5 separate regions of the Homo sapiens genome follow, and regions 1, 2, 3 and 5 are each linked to region 4. Evidence: promoter capture Hi-C in 16 types of primary human blood cells and fetal thymus (Javierre and others, 2016). All regions are on one chromosome and are shown on one strand. Each heading gives the region's core, a stretch centred on a gene start or on the middle of the fragment in contact. The rest is flanking DNA. Distances are from core to core; before and after follow the strand shown.

Region 1 (2,700 bases), core at 129-2,628, 350 kb after region 4:
TGGGGTGGTTTGTTATGCAGCCAGAGTTGCACTAAGTTAACAGCTACCTTTCTGATCTCCACCTGTCAAAGCTATTTCTGATCCTCTTCAAGTCTGGGTTAGGGTTTCCTCTTACATACCCCAGAGGTACTCACAGTTCAATACTGTAATTACTTGGACATCATCTCTATTTTGACATTTGATTGTAATATTTTTAGGGCAGGAACTTCATCTTATGAATTGTATCCTTTTGTTCTAGCACAGTGTCTGGTACTCCATAGATGCTCGGAAAGTATTTGTGAATGAAAGAATGGATTAAATCAGAGGTTGCAACTTGTGGACAACCTATTTTCATTTTGTCCTGCATAGTGTTGATCTGAAGAGCGATAAACATGTTTGGGTTTCTTTTTTAGGAATTGTTGGCCGACATTTGAAAATCAAGAAATTTGAGATAAACACCTGCATTACTGACTTGTCATTAAAAGAAATGGGAGGATCCGTCAACATTGGGCCTGCATTTTCTCATGGCACCAATGAGTAGTGACAGTTCCCTTTAGATGGGGCACATATTTTCTGACTGTGACAGTCTGGCAGGGGTTCCTATTGTCTCATCCACACCCATTGTTATTGATCATCACATCTGTGCTGTTCTCTTTTTTTTATGTTTAATTTTTTTTTATTATACTTTAAGTTTAAGGATACATGCGCCCAACGTGCAGGTTTGTTACATATGTATACATGTGCCACGTTGGTGTGCTGCACCCAATAACTTGTCATTTAACATTAGGTATATCTCCTAATGCTATCCCTCCCCACCAACCCACAACAGGCCCTGGTGTGTGATATTCCCCTTCCTGTGTCCATGTGTTCTCATTGTTCAATTCCCACCTATGAGTAAGAACATGTGGTGTTTGGTTTTTTGTCCTTGCGATAGTTTGCTGAGAATGATGGTTTCCAGCTTCATCCATGTCCCTACAAAGGACATGAACTCATCATTTTTTATGGCTGCATAGTAGTCCATGGTGTATATGTGCCACATTTTCTTAATCCAGTCTATCATTTTTGGACATTTGGGTTGGTTCCAAGTCTCTGCTATTGTGAATAGTGCCACAATAAACATATGTGTGCGTGTCTCTTTATAGCAGCATGATTTATAATCCTGTGGGTACATACCCAGTAATGGGATTGCTGGGTCAAATGGTATTTCTAGTTCTAGATCCCTGAGGAATTGCCACACTGACTTCCACAATGGTTGAACTAGTTTACAGTCCCACCAACAGTGTAAAAGTGTTCCTATTTCTCCACATCCTCTCCAGCACCTGTTGTTTCCTGACTTTTTAATGATCTCCATTCTAACTGGTGTGAGATGGTATCTCATTGTGGTTTTGATTTGCATTTCTCTGATGGTCAGTGATGATGAGCATTTTTTCATGTGTCTTTTGGCTGCATAAATGTCTTCTTTTGAGAAGTGTCTGTTCATATCCTTCGCCCACTTGTTGATGGGTTTTTTTTTTTCTTGTAAATTTGTTTGTGTTCTTTGTAGATTCTGGATATTAGCCCTTTGTCAGATGAGTAGATTGCAAAAATTTTCTCCCACTCTGTAGGTTGCCTGTTCACTCTGATGGTAGTTTCTCTTGCTGTCCACAAGCTCTTTAGTTTAATTAGATCCCATTTGTCAATTTTGGCTTCTGTTGCCATTGCTTTTGGTGTTTTAGACATGAAGTCCTTGCCCATGCCTATGTCCTGACTGGTATTGCCTAGGTTTTCTTCTAGGGTTTTTACGGTTTTAGGTCTAACATTTAAGTCTTTAATCCATCTTGAATTAATTTTTGTATAAGGTGTAAGGAAGGGATACAGTTTCAGCTTTCTCCATATGGCTAGCCCATTTTCCCAGCACCATTTATTAAATAGGGAATCCTTTCCCCATTTCTTGTTTTTGTCAGATTTGTCAAAGATGAGATAGTTGTAGATATGTGGCATTATTTTTGAGGGCTCTGTTCTGTTCCATTGATCTATATCTCTGTTTTGGTACCAGTACCATGCTGTTTTGGTTACTGTAGCCTTGCAGTATACTTTGAAGTCAGGTAGCGTGATGCCTCCAGCTTTGTTCTTTTGGCTTAGGATTGACTTGGCAATGTGGGCTCTTTTTTTGTTCCATATGAACTTTAAAGTAGTTTTTTCCAATTCTGTGAAGAAAGTCATTGGTAGCTTCATGGGGATGGCATTCAATCTATAAATTACCTTGGGCAGTATGGCCATTTTCACAATGTTGATTCTTCCTACCCATGGGCATGGAATGTTCTTCCATTTGTTTGTATCCTCTTTTATTTCATTGAGCAGTGGTTTGTAGTTCTCCTTGAAGAGGTCCTTCACATCCCTTGTAAGTTGGATTCCTAGGTATTTTATTCTCTTTGAAGCAATTGTGAATGGAAGTTCACTCATGATTTGGCTCTCTGTTTGTCTGTTATTGGTGTATAAGAATGCTTGTGATTTTTGCACATTGATTTTGTATCCTGAGACTTTGCTGAAGTTGCCTATCAGCTTAAGGAGATTTTGGGCTGAGATGATGGGGTTTTCTAGGTATACAATCATGTCATCTGCAAACAGGGACAATTTGACTTCCTCTTTTCCTAATTGAATACCCTTTATTTCCTTCTCCTGCCTGATTGCCCTGGCCGGAACTTCCAACACTATGTTGAATAGGAGTGGTGAGAGTGGACA
Region 2 (2,700 bases), core at 157-2,656, 370 kb after region 4:
CTATGATAGAAAATACCAAGAGACAAAACAATGAAAACAAAACCACCCATAATCACCAGATAATTACCTCTTAACATTTTCCTGTACTTACAGTCTTTAATATGTAATATATATAAAGTATATGATGTATATAAAGTAAACATATGTAATGTTTACAAATGGGATCGTATTGTTTTATAAACTTAAAATTACTTAATATTTGGCAATTTTTGCATGTCATTAAATTATTTTCAGTGTGATTTTTAATAGTTGCATAGCAGTCTTGCTGTATTAGTTACTACTCACATTTAGTAAATCTAAAATTTTGCATTCTTTTTATGAGCACTCATAAAAATTGATTAGTTTTCTGTTCTGAAATTGGTGGAAATATTGCCCATTGCTATCCACAGCCCACACTGATGTCCAGCATATATTACTAATCTCTTTGCTGTAGAACGACCAGTGTTAAATGAAGTAGGTGTTTTTTTTGTTTTGTTTTGTTTTTTTGTGATTCAGGTTATAAGCTTTGCACAGAACTTGTCATGCTGGAAAAGTTACAGAAAAAGTGAAATGACCTTCAGTCCAGCAGGCCTTCTGCAACTTCTATCTTTGATAACAGTCTGCCCTAAGAGAGAGTTCATGTATAAGCCTTTTGTTATCAATACTCTTTAATCTCATACTTGTACCAAGCCCACAAAGGTATGCTAATGAGAGCTCTAACACTCCTGGACTTGACTGAAAATTTTTCTCAGTAGGTTTCAGAAAGTGCTGAGAGGTGTAAGCCCAGCAACGTGCAAGGGGAAAGGGGACAGGATTCTGGATGGCCATTTGCTTCACTGGGATGCAAAACCTCTTTTGAGTACTAGAATCAGGTAAGGACAGCTATGTTTTCTTGGGGAAGGAGGGAAGGAGGGCTCTTGAATTATCCTATTGTCTCAGAGATCTTGAAGAGACCCTAAAGCTTCAATTTATCTCATAGCTTTGGAACCCTCTTTTGCCAAATTGTTACCTTTTACTCTCTCCTTGAAAAACAGGGACCCCGTTATGTGAAGATGTGGCAAACGGCTTGCTATTGTGCCATGAGAGCCTCATTACTGAGTTTTCAGGATTATTACAGATTAAGTGTGAACCATTATAAAATCTAGAATCCTTTAAGATATAATTATTGGCTTAGCTCTACCAAGGAGTGTTTCATTCTAAAGGCAGGGAAGGCATCTGCTTTAACATTCAAATTCAGATTTTAATCACCAATGAGAAATAAATAGTGCTAACCCAAGTTTTAAGTTCCTTAAAGGTGGTGGTCAAGTTAGCTAAAGTGGTTCAAAAAGAATGTTACTGTGTTGGCAACAATTCTGGCAGCTAAACAGAATGATGAAACACATGAGGTAGATCATTCAAGTCCACGTAATAGGTGGAAACACTAATGTTAAATCAAGTGCCATTGTTGAGTGGCATAAAATATCATCAGCTCACCAACGCAAAACTAGAAACAAAAAAGAAGTATTATTTTGTACCCTCTCTGTTTGATACACAGGCTTCTAACACATGACCACATTTACATACACAATCTGCCTGTCCATGCTCTGGGGTTGGGAGGTCCAGCTGTCAGTCATCTTGGCTAGTAGGAAGGCTTAGAGAACCAAAGCCCTGAGCAAAAACTAGAGATACTGGGTTTGAAGTTTGCTGGTGAAACAGCTGCTAATGAGTAGTAATTATCTGTAGATCCTTAGAGTTCAGAGGCATGTCTTAGATGTGTTTCCTGACTCCTGGAAACTGACAATAGAAGTTGATCATAAGTCACAGATCTGACTTGTTTTGCTCCACATTTGAAGTTGTCCCTGCTGCTGGTGGTTAAGGGCATTATGGTGGTGATAAGTGGATGAGGAAAGCTTCCCAATAACCAGAAAATTTGGGAAGATGTTCCAGTCTCTTTGCCCACTCCCAGTTCAGCCTACCCTCTGAAGTGTCTGCTGTTAGACTGATCTTTCACCTCTAGCCCAGGAATTGCAAAATCAAATGCTTGCACAGACCAGGTAGTAACTTAGATAAATAAGGCCTGCTGGGTAGAGATTGGCAGGTTGAAGAATATATCCCCCATCTAAAGAGAACAACAGCACTGAGTTTTAGGAAACTCTTGGCACACGGGAATGCTGGCTCAGTGTCATCATATTTTACGAATTATTTTAGGAGATAATTTGAAATTTCAGGATTGTAAATGTAAACTCTTTATAAACTCTGAATGCTATTTTTTTATATCTTGTTACCTAAGTCAAATTGAATAAAAAATTGACTGTACTAAATACATCTACATTGTTGCCATTTATTAACTCTTGGGGGTAGCAGCATCTTAGCCACAAATCCCCTATTTTGGGGGCAAATCCTGGGATTCCAATACCATTTCACCTCTCAGGCTTCCTAAAGCACAGGTTAAGAAAATGGGCTCTGAAGGTCCCACCTGTGATTCCAATCATCCTTTAACACTAGCCTCCTGTAAATTCCCTTAAAGGACAGGGAAGAGCACAGACTCTTTGCTACTTTGGAATCTATTAAAAAATGCTACCAGTTTGAGCATTTATTGAACAAAAGAAGTACTGTTGCTTCATCTCATCTTATTTTTATAAGAAATTTATGAGATAGGTTTTATAAGAACTTTGAGATAAGATGATCATAATCATATTCCTATTTATAGATGGTGAAGCTGATGTTCAGTATTGGGGGAGG
Region 3 (2,700 bases), core at 31-2,530, 260 kb after region 4:
TCAAAACTCTACTTTTGGATATCAGGAACATTGTCCTTGTGCTTTAGGTCCTCAGTAGCTCTTCTGGTTAGGGACAAAAGTCCTAATAAGGAAGGTCAAGGATGGAGACTAGCCCTTCTGGTTGGGGTGAGATGGAGGGAAGTACAACCAGAAAGTGAAAAGCAGGATGGGGCTGGAGCATTCTTCAAGATCTTCTTATCCTTTTTAAAAAAATTAATTAGTGTGGAATGGTAATAACAGAAAGTGTACTTTCAGCCATTGTTTTTGGACATTTGATGAACTTTCAGTCTGCCAACTCATGTCTCCTTTAGTTCTGATAATTTTTTTAAATTTTCTCTTTTTAGATTTAAAATATTTCTAAATCTTTGTTTGTTTTTTTCTTGGATTTTCTTGAACTCCTGCTATTCAGATCTTGGGCTTCTAGATTGCTTTTTTATTATTCTCTTCTCTCAATTTTCCATCTTTCATTTTGTTTCACATCTGAAATTTTTTTTCAACTTTTTCTATTGTTCCTATTGAATTGTTCATATTGACTAGGAATTTACAGGAGCTCTCTTTTTAAAATTCTCTCTCCTTTTTGTGGTACCATCTTGTTCTTTTTTGATACCTTATGTCTTTGAAAATGTTAGTAATAGTTTTTCATAGTCTGTTTTCCAAGTTCTTTTAGTTTGTTTGTTTTTTATCTTCATCTCTGGCTTTTATATTTATTAGAGAGTTTCTTCAGATACCTGGTGATTTTTTTTCATATTTTAAAGTAGGCACAAATAAAACTGTTTGGAAACTCTTTGCATGAGGTGAGCTTGTTTATATGGTTTCAGTGTAAGATGATCAGTATCCTTAAGTCTTTTTTCTTAAAATCTTGGGTATTTCTAGAAAAAAATTCATCTGATCATTAACCTGCAAGTTATTCTGGGTGCCTAAGAAGGTAAAAGGCAAGGGCAGATCCTACTTAATCTTTTTGCAACTTTCACTTTGTCCCTTGTTTTTAGTCAGATACCACTGCTTTCAACTGTGTTTAATGTCCACTACTCTAGAAACTCTCCATGTCTCTTTTCCAGAGGATAAACTTCAGTATTCTATGGTGTGGGGAAGAGGCAGTTGCTCAGCTGTACAAAGTGAGAATCTAGAGAAACTTATTAAGTGGTCTTTTAACTCCACTTTCACACCATTTCCAAGGTACTTGATGCCACCAATTCCTCATACTTTTAAGGCTAGAGGAAATATTTAGTGTTATGTAAATCAGAATGCTTCTTTCCCCTTTGCTGGCTTAGGGCTCCTTGTTTTGGGCCTGCCAGATCCGTCACCACTGATTCATGTGCTTCCCAACTTCCGAAATCGTGTCCCTGTTTTCTCCTCTTCTGTTCTCTTCTCTTCTGTTCTCTTCGACTGTTTTGATTTCTTGTCCCTTTTTTTAAAAAAGAAAATCTTTTTACTACCATTTCAGAGGAGTTTTTGGAGACAGTGAGATAGAATGTATATGTCCAGTGAAATACCTTTTTGGAAATCTGATTCATCTTTCAATTAACTGGATTCAGTTTTTTATTTCCCTTTTCACCCCCCAAAAAAGATGTGGGTGCTAGATTGTTGAGATCCTTGGGGCTTGACAAAATTTGTCAGTTGTCTTTATATTTATATACTTTATTTTTTTGCTGATTTCACTTCCTCTTTTGATCTGCTTTTAACATGTTGCTCTCTCTTCTTTCCTCCTGAAGTATCAGTGGGTCACAGGCCAGAGGAGAGAACCTAGGGTTTCTCCGTACCTTCTTTAAACACATCTATCTTTAAGAAAAAAATCATGTCTTGTTTTTACATTGTGGTTTCAATTCTTTATTTCATAGCCTCTTCAAACCTGTTTTATATGATCAAATTCATGGTTTGGTAAACTTCCTGTTTGTCACACCTGGCAAATCTCCCTCATGGTGGATCATTTCCTTGTGTGATTCATAATTTTCAATTATTTGCTCATCCTCAGCAAAGATTACTTTTTCCATGGGAGTCCTATGAACCATTGCTTTTTGAAGCGCCTTTAAGGAGCTATTTATATTTATTTTTCTTTTATATTTACCTTAATTTCTTGGCTTGGAAATTTCACACTACGCAGATAGTATAAATCTGGACTCTGTATCATTGTGTGTCAGTTTCATGGATCCAGTTTTTCTGGTCTTAGAGAGATTCTTGCTTTATTCAAGGTCTAAGTTTCAGTCCTCTGCCCTGGCTGGGATCTTAAGTCCCCAACCCCTAGCAGCTAGAGTCCAAGTCTGATATCCCTGTGGGATATAAGTGTTAACTTGTATCTTTTCTACTCTGAATTTGAGATTTTTCTTCTTTTGACACATGAGAAATTCTTTTTCTTTATTTTGAAACTGATTATGGTATTAAAATGTCAGCAGTTATATTTTATGTAGATTTTTATGTGCTTGATATATAAAGGAGATACGCATCACTGGGTCCATGTTCTGGAACCATAAGTCATCTCCTTTGCATTCTCATTTAATTAGGTATTCAGGAAACATCTATTAAGTGTGTACTATGCATTAGGCTCTAGAGATTCCAAAGCAAATGAAAGGACAAAGGAAGGTATAAGGTAGGAAGAATATTCCAGGCAGAAGGAACAACTTGCAAGGTATGAAATGACTGGTTTGTGTGGGAATCTACTGGAACACTTGAGTATGGATATGATACAGGCCCAGAGCTTGTAGG
Region 4 (2,700 bases), core at 141-2,640:
ACGGCCTCTGTCCAATGTCCCTGCCGGTACATCACTCCTCTGCAGGGACTAGGTTAGAACCGGGAGGCAGCCAGAGCAGCGCTCTCGCTGGATAACGGAAGAGGACTCCCTCGCCAACTTCCGCCTCTGGGGAAAAGCGGGGACCCTCCGCCACCTGAGTTCTGTTGTCTCGATTTCGCCGCAGTTTGCTTCTGGCCCGGGCGAGAACCTGTCCTCTGGGCAAGCCAGGGGTCGGTACAGGACTCCTATACCCCAAGGCGAGGCGGAGGCAGGTGCCGAGCGGTGGCCAGAGTCCGGCGCCCAAAGCCCGATGGGAGGGCGTGGCGGGGGAGGACGGTCCCGCCAGCTCCCAGGTCGGTTCCGAGCGCCCGCGGCCCGATGGCCGGGCGGAAGATGGCTGCCCGGAGCGCCGCGGACAGTCACGTGGTACGCCGGGCCCGTAGCCGCGCCCCTTCCCCCGCTCGCCAAGTCCCCGACCCCGCGGGAGGCACGGCCTCGGGCTGCCTGTAGGCCACCGAGGTGCGGCGCGGGCCGGCCAGGGACGGCGGGCATCGGGGCGGGAAGGCCAGCTCTCCCCGCTGTCCATCCTAACTTGGGCGCTGGGGCTTCGCTCGGGGAGCAGAGGAAAACCTTCCTTCAGGCGACTTGCACCACGTGGGGCTACTGGGCATGCGCGGGCTCCGACCCCGGCCTAGCCGCTCTCCGGGTTTTCGCCGCAGCTCGGAGGGGCGGCGGAAGGTGGGCCCCAGGCGGGGCGGGGCGGCTCTGACGCAGTCGGAGTTTTCACCTCGCGCGGTTAGAGCTCTTGCGCCTCCGTCGCGCTCCCAGGCGTCGCCAGAGGCTTTTTTTTTCTGTTGTGGGAGAAAGATGAGAGTCTATGGTTAGAGGTTTGAAAATGGGCCGAATAGTCAGGTCGGCCGTTTCCTAGGAATGATCCATTGGGCATTAATCCCAAGTGTCGCAGCCCTTGGGCTTGGTGGGAAAAAGAATCCAGTAGTAGTTCGCAAACTCGTGCCTGGCTTCCAGCAGGCTGAGTTTGCGTTCCCTGCTTTGTGACCAGCTCTAGCGGCTCCCGTCTCCGGCCCTGCCCCAAGGGATTTACCGTCCCAGATTGTAAAATCTGGCTCCCGCTAGGCCTTACTTAGTGGGCCCCTAAAAACGCTGGGGAAAGCGCCCGCCTCCTCAGTTTCCCATTACTTGAAAGTAAAATTCAAGGGGCCCAAACTGCGACTGTCCCTTGGTTCGGGGTCCCGCTCGGTCCCGGGAGGAGCCCCCCGCGGACCCCGCCCGGCCGGCCCGCCCCCCCGGCCGCAGTGAACACCCGGAGGAGCGGAGTCGCGTCGCGCGGGAAGCCGGGCCGGCTCGGGCAGCGGACTGGGCATGCTCGGCAGCCCGGGAGGCTCGCGGTGGCAAGTCGAAAGCGTTCGCACCAGCGGGGCAGCGGCTGCGGGCGGCAGGCGGCGGGCAGGTCGGGAGTGAGAAGGACCGGCCTGGGCTGACTGCTCTCCCCTCGCGCCTAGGGAGCCGGTCGGAGAGCGCGATTGGGGTGCGGAGCCCCGACGCTGCCCTGCCCCGGATTTCATTCCGCGGCGGGGGCTCCGCGAGCGGAATTCCGGCGGCTGCCGTGACTCCAGTGCAAGTGAGTCGTGGGGCAGGGACAGACAGCCGGCCTCACGGTTGCGGGGGCCGATCGGACACCTGTCTCGCGGGCCCGGCCTTATGCCGGGGAGCAGCGGGCGGGCTGCTCTGGGGCGAGGGGGCGTGAGCGCAGCCCGCGCGGTGCCGCGCGCGTACCTGGCGGGCAGTCCTCCAGAGCTGCTGCTCCCGTGGGTGGTCACAGCGGGGAGGTCCGGCGGCCGGGATCCGGGCTCGGAGGGGGCGGGCCGCCGGCGGGGCTCCCCGGCTAAGTTGGGGCGGGGAGGAAGGAGGAGGCGTCAGTGGGCACCTTTTCAGAGCTACTGCGTGCGGGCTGGAAGGCTGCCTGGTGTCGGATTGGGGCGATCGGGAGGCGGGGAGCCTTTGGGCAGTAGCCCGCCCGGGGTCCGGAGACCCCCACCCAGGGGCCGACTCCAATCACGGCTCCACCCCCACAGCCTAGGTGGCGGTGTGACAGTTGGTACCTTCGGTCCAGATCGCAGCCGGCCAGGCGCCCACTATTTCGGGATCCCCCCACCGTAGCCCCTCGATGCCCCCTGACGACAAAACAGGTGGGACCCCCCCTCCCCGAGGAGCGCTCCCCTTCTCTCCAGGCCGCGTAACAGCCCGCCAGGCTCGCGGGCGGCTCTGAGACCCCGCAGGGCTGCCCCCGCGGGGCGGGGACGTTTAGGGGCAAGGCCTGGAGGGGAATCGGCGCAGCCCAGAACTGGACAGTCTCTCCAGGACGCCGCTTTTCCGTGACAGAGGGGGTCTGCGCTATCCCCCAGCGACGTGTCAAGGGCAAAACAGCAGCAGCAGCGGCTGCCTCTCCCACCGTCTTAACCCGAACTCGGGCTTGTGGCGTCCTCCCGTGGGCCGGATAGAGTGCCCTAGTCCAGCTAACGGATTCAGCCTGGAGCGTTCTGGTGAATGCTGCTTTCCTCTTTGGTGCCGCGAAGTAGAAATCGGGATAAGGGTTGTCATGGCCGGAGGGAGCGAAGAGAATCCAGGCAGGTGCTTCTCAGATGTTTCTTTTCACCTTCAAACAGTACAGACTTCAGCGGT
Region 5 (2,709 bases), core at 26-2,525, 280 kb after region 4:
CACCCCCGACGGCAGCTTCAGCATCAAGATTAAACCCAACGGGATGCCAAATGGGTATAGGAAAGAGATGATAAAGATCCCCATGCCAGAACTGGAGCGCTCTCAGTACCCCATGGAGTGGGGCAAGACTTTTCTGGCCTTTCTTTATGCACTTTCCTGTTTCGTTCTCACCACAGTGATGATCTCGGTCGTCCACGAACGAGTACCTCCTAAGGAGGTGCAGCCTCCACTACCGGACACATTTTTTGACCATTTTAACCGGGTGCAGTGGGCCTTTTCTATTTGTGAAATTAATGGCATGATCCTTGTAGGACTCTGGTTAATTCAGTGGCTGCTCTTAAAATACAAGTAAGTCAAGTAAAAGCTCTAAGATTCAATGATTATGGGATTTGCACTCCAAACATCTACTTATTATTTATAAATGAAATTTATCAACTTGTTGGGATCAAAACATACTATTTTTTTTTCTTTTTTAAACACATACCCTGTTGGACTAACTTACTGTCTGGAAGCTTTAAAAGAAAATGTTGTTTGTTGCCTGTTTTATGCAAGATTCATACAGGATGATGAATAAGATGGTTAGAGATGATGCTCTGTTTTCACTTAATAAGAAAGAAAACTCTCAGACATCTTCAGACAGTACAGGCTATTGAACAACAGATCAACCACCTAGTCTTGGTTGGTGTTACTAACCCATTAAATAAATCGACAGTTGGCCTAAGCACTATAAATTGGCTGCATAGCTTTTCCCACACAGAGTCAGACATCTAGAGCCTTAGCAATATGTATTTAAAGATGTTTCACACAGAATTCAGAACACCTGTTCCAGAGTGGCTTGGGTTGTTGGGAAAACAATACCAAAGGGTATGCCTTTGGGTAGGTGGGAAGTGGATGGACCTGAATGGATTCCCACCTTCTACTACTACTACTTAAAACAATATGTGACTGTTGCATTCAAATTTCTCAGAGTTTTAAGTAGGCAACTCCCACTTAGTTCCAGGTGTATCCAAGGTGGCTTTCATATCTGAAGCTCTAAACTCAACATGGACCCCCTCAGACTGGCTGTTTACTGGGGTTGCCTACATTGTCCCTTCACTGATGTTTGATTTTCTCCTTAGTTAAAGGAACGCCTTATGGTTTCCATGAATGAGGGTTGGAAATTGGTTTGTTAAAGAGCTGAGTTTCTCTCCAGTGGAGTGTGTTTCATGATCCACCATGTGGTTAAATATTAAGGAATTCATCTTACAGCAAGAAAACAAAATGCACACTGAGAGTTCATGCTGAATGTTCTTTGACAGAAATGATAAGGTTTTTCCTAGTATGTTTTATAACAACTCTTTTTTTTAACCTGATAAATTATATATCTACAAATTGAAATAAAAGCAGTTCCTGACACTTTCCCAGGGATGGACGGTCTTAACTGGTATAAAGAAAGCCATTTAACTGATCAGTGTTTATTTACAGATGGTTTGACAGTCCTAGAGTTTAAGCTGAATCTGAAATAGAATTGTTGGTCTGGGCTGCATTTAATTTGGTGGAAGACGTTTTTTTCTGTTCCTTTGGTTTTAAGAGGCTAATAAATAGGAATAGGCTTTAGAAATACAAGATACTTGGAGTTTATTAAATGCATTATTTTTGCTGCCAAACTTTAGTTCTGCTTTTGCCTTTTTGACTTTTAAACTTTTTTCCTAAAATCCCACTGGAACAAAATACCAGTACTGTACAAAGGCAAGGTCAACTCAAATTATGCTTCCTGAGTTTTCCCTGATATTTGTTGTTTTGTTTTTGTAAGTTTGCTCCTTTTCCGGTTTTTCATCAAAATTTTTAAATTCAGGCAAATAATTTACTACCCCACAATATAACTTTGAGTAAGTCTTAACAGTTACGAATCAGAATCTTTCACAGAACTGTGACTTTTAAGTAATTTTATTCTTATAAAGTATCCTCTTAACCATAAAACTAATTTTCTTAAAGTATATTAATAATTACAATTTTCCCAACAGGAAATTTTCCTCAAATCTATTTCTCTTTAAGCTTTATGATTTTGCGTTTTCCTGGTACTTATTGACAATACTGTAGTCATTTATATATTTAAATTGCTCAAAGCAAGAAACCAGTTGATTTGACAAAATTAACTCAGTGCTGGAATGAGGCCTCAGGTGTGTCCAACTTGCTGAGTGGTTTGGGTGGATCCTTACATCTCAGGAGCCTCGTTTTTCTCACAAACGGAATAATGACGTCTCAGTCTAGATGATTTCTGTTGTCATATATATATACAACTACATTTTATTAGATTCTAACATAATTGGATGGGCCAATTATATTGAATTTTATTAGCTTCAGAGCGTTTGTGTCCAGAATGCATCCAACTAAGTCCTCTCTGATTTTCACCTCTGGCGGGATAGGGATGTGGGAAATGAAAGCAGAGTCGTCATGATCTTCCTAAGCATCGTCCACCCTGTCCTTCTACTGGGGTCCATCGCTGGTTTCCTGTCTCTCTCCCTGTGACCTCTCTTCAGTGTATCTGGCCCACCAGACAGGTAGGAGGTAGGAAGAAAGATACAGATGACACATCAAGCAGTGAAGATGGATAAACTACCTTTTCCTGGCTCTCATAGAGAAGGTTAAAATCTTTTGTAGTATCAGAGGGACCCTTTGTTTCTAGTTATTTAGTTATTGCATTATAGCAGTTTTGTTTATCTGGCATTT

Evidence for each region. Contacts are between HindIII fragments. The CHiCAGO score rates a contact against its expected background, and 5 or more counts as called.
Region 1: a fragment that was not itself captured here is called in contact with the fragment with the promoter of SGMS1 in region 4 in 1 of 17 cell types (total B cells); the score reaches 5.7 in total B cells.
Region 2: a fragment that was not itself captured here is called in contact with the fragment with the promoter of SGMS1 in region 4 in 6 of 17 cell types (total B cells, naive B cells, M2 macrophages and 3 more); the score reaches 9.5 in total B cells.
Region 3: a fragment that was not itself captured here is called in contact with the fragment with the promoter of SGMS1 in region 4 in 8 of 17 cell types (total B cells, monocytes, M0 macrophages and 5 more); the score reaches 10.4 in total B cells.
Region 5: a contact is called between a fragment that was not itself captured here and the fragment with the promoter of SGMS1 in region 4, in 4 of 17 cell types (monocytes, total B cells, M0 macrophages and 1 more). The highest score is 10.1, in monocytes.

What each region holds. Positions count from the first base shown.
Region 1 is chr10:50,268,952-50,271,651 of GRCh38, reverse strand. No RefSeq gene overlaps it. Among named protein-coding and RNA genes, the nearest start is that of ASAH2, 19 kb to the right of the region's middle. The HindIII fragment of the contact is 3,266 bases long and covers 1-2,700 here.
Region 2 is chr10:50,249,546-50,252,245 of GRCh38, reverse strand. ASAH2 (N-acylsphingosine amidohydrolase 2) reads left to right here and starts at 730. Exons shown (of 21, transcript NM_019893.4): 1 at 730-851. RefSeq lists a silencer at 483-777. The HindIII fragment of the contact is 928 bases long and covers 943-1,870 here.
Region 3 is chr10:50,361,895-50,364,594 of GRCh38, reverse strand. The region is part of intron 6 of SGMS1 (sphingomyelin synthase 1); the gene reads left to right. Among named protein-coding and RNA genes, the nearest start is that of ASAH2, 110 kb to the right of the region's middle. RefSeq lists an enhancer at 1,634-1,703. The HindIII fragment of the contact is 9,892 bases long and covers 1-2,700 here.
Region 4 is chr10:50,622,646-50,625,345 of GRCh38, reverse strand. SGMS1 (sphingomyelin synthase 1) reads left to right here and starts at 1,390. Exons shown (of 11, transcript NM_147156.4): 1 at 1,390-1,639. SGMS1-AS1 (SGMS1 antisense RNA 1) reads right to left here and starts at 395. Exons shown (of 4, transcript NR_126411.1): 1 at 155-395. RefSeq lists silencers at 223-852, 977-1,134, 1,183-1,442, 1,703-2,042 and enhancers at 993-1,521, 2,233-2,632. The HindIII fragment of the contact is 12,791 bases long and covers 1-2,700 here.
Region 5 is chr10:50,341,131-50,343,839 of GRCh38, reverse strand. SGMS1 (sphingomyelin synthase 1) reads left to right here. Exons shown (of 11, transcript NM_147156.4): 7 at 1-348. Among named protein-coding and RNA genes, the nearest start is that of ASAH2, 91 kb to the right of the region's middle. The HindIII fragment of the contact is 1,522 bases long and covers 515-2,036 here.